2 separate regions of the Homo sapiens genome follow, and region 2 is linked to region 1. The links are contacts of gene promoters, found by promoter capture Hi-C in human tissues and cell types (Jung and others, 2019). All regions are on one chromosome and are shown on one strand. Each heading gives the region's core, a stretch centred on a gene start or on the middle of the fragment in contact. The rest is flanking DNA. Distances are from core to core; before and after follow the strand shown. Region 1 holds the start of SLC41A2 (solute carrier family 41 member 2). Region 2 has its middle 180 kb from the start of MIR3922.

Evidence for each region. Contacts are between HindIII fragments. The study calls those that stand out against the background at their distance.
Region 2: a contact is called between a fragment that was not itself captured here and the fragment with the promoter of SLC41A2 in region 1, in 3 of the 25 tissues and cell types used here (adrenal gland, lymphoblastoid cells and thymus).

The regions. Positions count from the first base shown.
Region 1 is chr12:104,956,241-104,960,707 of GRCh38, forward strand. It overlaps SLC41A2 (solute carrier family 41 member 2), which reads right to left and starts at 2,050. Exons shown (of 11, transcript NM_001352171.3): 1 at 1,848-2,050. RefSeq lists silencers at 1,439-1,768, 1,959-2,228. The HindIII fragment of the contact is 10,569 bases long and covers 1-3,440 here.
Region 2 is chr12:104,769,557-104,774,023 of GRCh38, forward strand. No RefSeq gene overlaps it. Among named protein-coding and RNA genes, the nearest start is that of MIR3922, 180 kb to the left of the region's middle. The HindIII fragment of the contact is 6,951 bases long and covers 1-4,467 here.

The DNA.
Region 1 (4,467 bases), core at 800-3,299:
GTGGCACTTATTCAACCTTTACCCAAGAATAAGCATTAAGTTTTTCGGTATCAGATTGGTTGGATTTTTTCAAGTCAGTGCCAGTATCCAAACCTATTAACAGAAATTTTTTTCCATAAATGAACAATAAAACTCAATAAAAAGCTAAGCAACCCAGACTGGCCGTGGTGGCTTATGCCTGTAATCCCAGCACTTTGGGAAGCCGAGGTGGGCAGATCACTTGAATTCAGGAGTTGGAGACCAACCTGGCCAACATGGTGAAACCACGTCTCTACTAAAAATACAAAAATTAGCCGGGCATAGTGGTGTGTGCCTGTAGTCCCAGCTACTTGGGAGGCTGAGGCAGGAGAATCGCTTGAACCCCGGAGGTGGAGGTTGCAGTGAGCCAAGATTGTGCCACTGCACTCCAGCCTGGGTGACAGACTGAGAGTCAGTCTCCAAATAAATAAATAAATAAATAAATAAAAATAAAAAGCCAAGCAACCCAATTAAAATATGGGTAAAAGATATGAACATTTTCTCCAAAGAAAATATATGAATGGCCAATAAGCACATGAAAAGATGCTCAGCATCCCCAATCATTAGAGAAATGCAAATCAAAACCACAAAGAGATACCATTCCACACTCACTACGATGGCTATCATAAAAAATAACCAGTAAAAAAGTAACAAGCCTTGGGGAAGATGTGAAGAAATCGGAACCCTCATACACTGCTTAGTGGGAAAGTAAAATGGTACAGCTGCTTTGCTTGGCAGTTCCTCAAAAAGTGAAACACGGAGCAATTGCCCTCCTAGGTATATACCCAAGAGCACTGAAAACACATGTCCACAAAAACGTGTAAACAAATGTGCATAGCAGCATTACACACAATGGCCAAAAACTGGAAACAACCCAAATGTACATCAACTGATGAATAAACAAATGTGGTACACTGATACAACAATATTAATATGCTATAAAAAGTAAAGTACTGATACATACTACATGAGTGAAACTTGAAAACATTACAGTATGTCTTTCGACGCCAGACACAAAAAGCCACATATTGTACGCTTCCATTTATATGAGATTTCCACAACAGGCAAACCCATATAAACAGAAAGTAGATTAGTGGTGGCTAGTGGGGTGGGGTCAAGGGGAAATGAGGAGTGATTACTAAGAGAGACAGGGTTTCTTTTGGGGATGATGATCTGGATAGTGGTCATATTTGGAAAACTCTGTGAATATATTAAAAGCCACACTTTAGAAGAATGAGTTTTATGGCATGTGATGTATATCTCAATTTAAAAATTGTCACTACAAAAAAAAGATGACATATATACGTAATATACACATCAATGTATATCGGTAACACATAGATATGTGTCATCTCTCTCTGTAAATGAGCATTTGGGCTTTTAAATTTGAGATATGCTCCGTGTATATAAAGAGAAGAATGAAAGAAAAGGGTGACGGGGCACTCGCGGAGCCCTGAACAGGCATCTGGGGTGTGCCCGAGCCAGCCTCGCAGCATCTCCATCCCAGCTCACCTTCAGCCATCACTCATACACCACCCGCCGCCTGTCCCTGCCTTGGGCGCCCGGGACCGCTTGTCCGCGGTGGCCGCGGAACAGCTTCCCTCAGCCCGAGGTGGGGCAGGCGCGGGGGCCTGGGCTCGGGCGCTGCCCGGCGGCCCGGAGAGGCGTCCGCAGGGGGCACGGCTGCTCGGGCGGGGCCGCTCCCTCTGCTCCCCGCGCCCCCGCCGCCGGGTCCCGAGCCCAGGCCTCTCGGCCCCACCTCCCTCCCGCACCTGATGCGCCCGAACGCGGCGCCGCGGCCGAAGCCGAGACTTCCCCTCCATGGTCACCTGTTCCGGAGCGCGGCGGCGGCAGCGGCCGGTGTGAGAAGGGTCCCCGTCTCCTCAGACCAGACCGAGACACCAGGGGCGGGGGATGGAAGGGGCATTCACCTGGTGCCCGGCACCGGTGGTGGCGGGGAGGACAGCGGCTCCCAGCCCACAGCTCCTTCCTGCTCCCGCGCCTCCTCGCGCGGCTGCGGCCCCAAGCTGACAGCCCGGCCGTCGGCGCCCGCGGCCCCCTGACTCCCCGCCGCCCCGCCCCCGCGCGGCAGCCCCGCGCAAGCGCAGCCGCGCCGCCGCCGGGGAAGCCCGGGCCTTGGTGATGTGGCCCGCGGGGCGGCGACCCGGAGCGACAGCACCGCCCCGCCCGGACCCCGGCCGCGCCCTGGCAGACAGCTGTCGGGAACGGGGGCGCTGGATGACGGCAAGGGGGCAGTTTTCTGGGGAGCCTGCCCAGGAGAGAAGGGCTGTGGCCTCCTTCGGCATCCCTCTTCCCCACCAGCCCACGCACGCCCACTTCACCGCCTGCTCCAAGGTCCGAACCCCCGAATCCATGACTCATGATTTCTCTTCTCAGACCAGCGGCCTCTTTTTGGCTGAGGTCATGTTTCTTGCAGACTGGAGTTAAAACCGAACCACGTGTCTTTCGGCCCAGCAGCGCATAGTGTGGGCGGTGCAGGAGCCGAGACGGGCAGGAACCACCGCAGGAGGGGGTGAGGTTTAGGGCAGCCCCATAGCACCCTCCCCGTGCCAGGCAGGTGTAGGCGCCAAGCGCATGGGGCGCTGAAGAGTTGGCTGGGGTGCCAGGCTTTTCAAGTTTCCCCACACTTGCTTTTAAACCTAGATCAAACTGATCCAAAGTCTGCATGTAAATCCGAGAGCTCATTTATTTTATTTACAAAACTATTGAGCATCTACTGTGTATGATTCAGGGAATGAGACACACCCCAGGGATACTCCAGTGAACAAAAGAAAGGTGTTGGTCCGAAGACAGTTATTTTAAAAATTACACAGCTAATGCCATAATGCCAGGATTGGTGGCTCATGCGTGTAACCTCAACACTTCGGGAGGACCAGGCGAGAGGATCGCTTGAGGCCAGGAATTTGAGACCAGCCTGGGCAAACACAGCGAGACCTGGAGTGGCTAGGAGACTGAGGTGGGAGGATCGCCTGAGCCCAGGAGTTCAAGGCTGCAGCGGGCTATGATCGCATCACTGCACTCCAGTCTGGGCCACAAAATGAGACCTTGTCTCTAAAACAACAACTCAAAATTACACAGCTAATGATACTCTTTTCCTCAAATCAAAGCTTCTACCAATTCCAAGCCACACCAGTGATTTAGTAGCAGCTTTTCTGGTGCTGAAGGACACCAGCATACATTTATCCATGTTCTTTTTTTTTTTCCTTATGCTTTGCGATCAGACTTTGAGCTTTAACCTTAACCTTCAGGGTGAAGGGTGCTTCGGTATCACTCTTGGCCATCTGCAGTCATGCTTTTTATAATGACTCATCCTGGTGTTCCTCACCACCTAAAAATGAAAGTATAATTGCAAGGAATATGGAAAAGCAGTGTTTTGACTGCATTTCCAGCTGGTTTTTGTTCTGGTTGTTTTTTGAATTACAGATCATTAGAAAGTAGCTGCTCTTGAAAGTTTGGCAGAAGTTCCACCCAATATGTGTTCCTCCCCTGAGTGTGTAGTCTTTCAAGATTTCTACACAAAGCATATACAGAAGCCAGCCTGTCTTGGTTTTGAAAATTCTTCCACCATTTTTTTCTGAGAGAGCTGGTGGTTTCTACCGTCCTTCAGAGCATTACATGGCATGTGGCAGGCAACCTTCTACTTACATTCTTCATTCAGTACCGCAAAGTAGTGTGTACTTTGGAGATATGTTAAGCTTCAAGTTGGAATCCAAATTTAAATCAAATTTCAGCCCTGAAAATAACTCACATTGGAATCGGGCGAGGAAATGCCCCCTTGTAAAAAACTGGGTCCTAATGGGTGCAGACAACAACAATCCCATTTCTACTTCATCTCCCGTCTGACAGCTGGCAACTTCAAATGTGAAGCAAGTGGCTTGGACTTGAGGCTGTGTGGTGATGCTGTTGTGATTGCTGGAAAAAAGCCTGAGAGTTATGAGAGTGTATAACAAAGGAGCGTGTCTGTGCTAGGGGGTAAGAAAGATCTCCTGGAGGAAGTGACATTTAATCTCAGCCTTGAAGAATAAGGAGGAGTTAGGGCAGGCAACATAGAGAAGGGGGTGGGGTGGGCAGTGCATTTAGCTGTGGAAACTGCAGGTTTGAAGGCCCTTTGGTAGGAAGAGGCTCTGTCTGTGAAGGCTTTGGGAAAAGGCCACTGTGCTTAGACTGAGAGAGCTACCTGGGAGGGAGAGGTGGGCGGGCCCTTGAGGGTCAGGTTAAGGACTTTGGATTTAATCCTAAAGACAAAAGAAGCCAATGAAGAGTTGAAAAGGTCCTATCTGGACATGAAAAATTGCATTTGTAAAAGATGATCCTGGATGCAGTGGCTCACACCTGTAATCCCAGCACATTGGGAGGCTGAGGTGGGAGGATCACTAGAGGCCAGGAGTTTGAGACCAGCCTGGGCAACATTGCAAGACCCCCATCTCT
Region 2 (4,467 bases), core at 999-3,498, 190 kb before region 1:
AGAGTCAATGTACCTTCCTCTTTGAGATGTTGCAAACTCTAAAATTATATTCATGTGATATACCCACGTCTATAGTCTTCCCTTTTGAGCTTACATCTTGGGGTGTTGCCATGAGGTGAATGTTGGAAATTTGGTATCTTGGCACCAAAATCAAGGATTATTCATTATTCATTTAAATGAATTTAAGCTTTCCTTAAAATATTTGTATGTAAAAAAGACCCTTTATTTAAATATATTCCACTGAATATTGAACTCAAAATCATTTTTGTGATCCATTTCTGATTCTTTCCATCGTTTATACATGAATTACATATTTATATGTATGTATCACTTTAGATTATTCTATATACACATTCCTATATATTCTTTGGAGAAATGTTTATTCAAATCATAAATCCTTTATCAGAAATATGTTTTACAAATATTTTCTCTCAGTCTGTGGTTTGCCCTTTTCATTTTCTTAATGTCTTTCAAAGAGCAAACATTTTAAATTTTGATGAAGTCCAATTTATCAATTTTTATTTTACAGCTGGGTTTTTTGTGTCCTGTGTAAGAAATCTTTACCCAACCTAAAGTCTCCAGGATTTTATCCAATGTTTTCTTTTAGAAGTGTCATAATTTTTGCTTTTACATTTACGTTTATGACCATTTAGTTAGTACTGTATATATGAAGTAAGGGTCATAGTTCAGACCTTATAAATATCCAGTTGTTCCATTACCATTTGTTGAAAGAGCTGTACTATTTTTACATTGGTGCCTTTGTCAAAAATCAAGTGATCACATATATGCGAGCTGCTTTCTGGACTCTCTCTGCTGTTCTGTCGATCTATATGCCTGTTCCTATGCCAATATCACACTGCCTTAATTATTATAGCTTTATAGGAGGCCTTGAAGTCAGGTATTATAATTCCCCAAGTATGCTTTTATGTTTTTCTTTATTGCACTGGCTATGACTTCCAATACCAGGTTTAATAAAAGTGGTTAAGAGGAAAGCTTCAGTTTTTTACTATGAAGTATGATTCTAGCTGTAGGTTTTTTGTGGATGCCCTTTATCAGATTAAAGTGGTCAATTTGCTAATATTTTATTTAAATTTTTTCGCCTATGTTCCTAGAAAATATCACCCTATATTTTTCTTGTGATGCTTTTGTCTGGTTTTGATGGGAGGGTAATGCCGGCCTCATAATACAACTTGGGAAATATTCCTTCCTCTTCTATTTTCTGGAGGAATTTGTGTAGAAATTGTATCGTTTTTTTCCTCAAATATCTGGTAGAACTCACTTGCAAAGCTATCTGCTCCTGGAATTTTCACTGTGGGAAGGTTTTTAATTAAAAATTATTTTTATTTAATAGATAAATATTTAATAGATAAATAAAATTATTAATTTTAAGTAAGCTACTTAAGTAATCTAATTTTTCTTGAATGAGCTTTGGTAAAAATACATTTGAAGGAATATATCTGTTTCATCTAAGTTGCTGAATTTATTGGCATAATGTTGTTTATAAGTTTCTCTTATTAACATTTAATGCCTGTTGGATAAGTAATTATATTCTGTTTTTCATTCCCGATATTGGTAGTTGATGTCTTCTCTCTTTTTTCCATTGTCTGGCTGGAAATTTATCAGTTTTATTGATTCTTTCTAAGAACAATCTTTTGGTTTTGTTGATTTTCTCTGCCTTTTTTTGTTTGTTTTTGGTTTCATTGATTTGTGCTCCCATTTTTATTATTTACTTCCTTCTGTTTGCCTTGTGAATAATTTGTTCTTCTTTTTCTAGTTTATGCCAGAACTTTAGATTATTAATTTGAGTCCTTTCTTCTTTACTAATATAAGCACTTAAGGCTAAAATTGTCCTTCTAAGTACTACTTTAGCTGCATCCCATAAATTTTGGCAAATTGTGTTTCCATTTTTATTCAGTTTAAAGTATTTTCTAGTTTTCTTTATAGTTATTTATTTAATTCATAGATTATTAAGTGTGCTGGGAATTTTTTTGATATCTTCATTTTATTTCTACTTAAATTCCATTGTCGTCAGATAACATATTTTGTATGATTTTTGTCCTTTTAACTTCATAGAGACTTGTTTTAAGGCCCAGAATAGGATCTATCTTGGTATATGTTCCCTGTGGACTTTAAAACTATGTTTATTCCGCTATTGTTGGATGGAAGGTTTTATAACTGTCAACTGGATCAAGCTGGTGGATAATGTTCTTCAAGTCTTCCATATCTTATTCATTTTCTGAACATTTATTTATCAATTATTGGAAAAGGGGAGTATTAAAATGTCCTATTATAATTGTGGATTAATCTATTTCTCTTCTCAATTTTTGCTTAATTTTAAAACTTTAAAAATTAGTTGCATACACATTTAAAGTTATGTTTTCTTGATGAATTAACTCCTTTATTATTATGAAATGTCCCTCTTTTTCCCCAGCTGTATTCCTTGTTCTGAAGTCCACTTTGATACTACTATACTAAGCCAGCTTTCTTTTTTCAGTGTTTGCATTATATACCATTTTCTCTCTTTTACTTTTAACCTATCTGTGTATTTATGTTTAAAGTAGCTTTCTTTGTTAACAACCTATATTTGGGTCTTTTAAAATCAAATTAAATTTAATTAAAAAAATTTTTAGAGACAGGGTCTCACTCTGTCTCCCAGGCTGGAATGCATGGTGTGATCATAGCTAACTGCAGCCTCTAACTCCTGGGCTCAAGAGATCATCCTGCCTCAGCCTCCCAAGTAGCCAGACTACAGGTGCACACCCTTTTCCCAAGTAATTTTTTACTTTTTGTAGAGGCGGGATCTTGCAATGTCATCCAGGCTGGTCTTGAACTCCTGGCTCCAAGCAATCCTCCCACCTTGGCCTCCCAAAGTGCTCAGATTACAGGCATGAGCCACCACACTTGGCCAGATATTTTTTAAAAAAAAAATCTAATATGAGAACCTCTTCCTTTTAGTTGGAATATTTAGACTATTTACATTTAATGTAATTATTGATATAGTTAGGTTTAAACCTACTATCTTGTTGTTTTCTATTTCTTATCTTTCTTCCTTTTTCCCTTTTTTTCCTTTACTTTGCTTATATTGGGTATTTTTATTATTCTAGTTTTCCATTTACTTTTGGCTAATTAGCTATTTCTTTGTTGGTTTGTGTTTAGTGGTTGCCTTTGGATTTATAATATGTGTATTTAAACTTATTACAGTCTATCTTTAAAAATTTATGCTATATACACATTTAACACGAGAACCCCACAACAGATTACTTCCATTCCCCTTCTTTTTGCCCTTGTTGTCATATATTTTGTTCTACGTGTTACAAACTATAAAATGTTATCATTTTTGCTTTATCTGTCAATTATCCTTTAAATATGCAAAAAGTGAGAAAGACAATTTAATATCTACCTTCACATTTATCATTTCTGGCCCTTGCTCTTTTGCATAACTCCACACATCTGGTCTCATTTTCTTTCAACCTGAAAAATTTCCTTATTCCTTGTATTATAGGTCTGCTGGCAGCAAATTATCTCATCTTTTGTTTAACTAAAAATTCTTGATCAAATTTGAAAATGTGTGGCCATTACTTGGCCATTACTTCTCTAAATATTCTTTCCTGCCCCTACACTCTTTCTAGGACTCTACTTATATGTTAGACCACTTGATGTTGCTCCATTGATCATGAATGCTTTGTTCATTTTTTAAAGTTTTTGTTTTCTTGGTGTGCTTCATTTTGAATATTTTCTAATTGCTCTTTCTTCAAGTTTACTGATTCTTAATCCTGCGGTTAATGCCATCCCAGGGAAATTTTCATTTCAGATGTTGTATTTTTTATTTCTATAAGTTCCATTTGGATCTTTAAAAGTGTTACATTTCTTTCCTTATAATGATCACATGTCCTTTATATCCTTGAGAATGTGGAAGTGTGTGTGTGTGTGTGTGTGTGTGTAATCTTTTAAAGTCATTATCTGCTAATCCATCATCACTATCATTTTTAGGTCTGCTTATATTGACTAATTTTTCTCCTGATTACTGTTCCAATTTTCTTGCCTTTTTGTATGTCTAGCAACTTTTAATTTGATGGTGGATATTTAATTTTACATTTTTCAGGCTGGGTTTTACTATACTCTTTAAAGGGGTGTTGGACATTTTCTGGCAGGCAATTACATTACTTATGGATTAGACTGATCCTCTTCAGGTTTGTTTTTAAACTCAGTTAAAGTGGGTCTGGAGCAGCCTTTATTCTAGAGCTGATTTAACCCCATTTGTAAGGTGTGGTCTTTCTGAGGGTTCCACTTAATTCCATGAATATTTAATGAGGTCTTTTACACTTGCTAGAAGCAATTCAAATAACTCCCGGCATTGTGTAACCTCTGGGAAATATTTTTCATATAGCACCTCAGCAATTGTCCTTTCCTTGTAAGTTGTTCTCTTCTGGCCTTGTAGGATTTTACTCTATGCATGCACTTACTGGC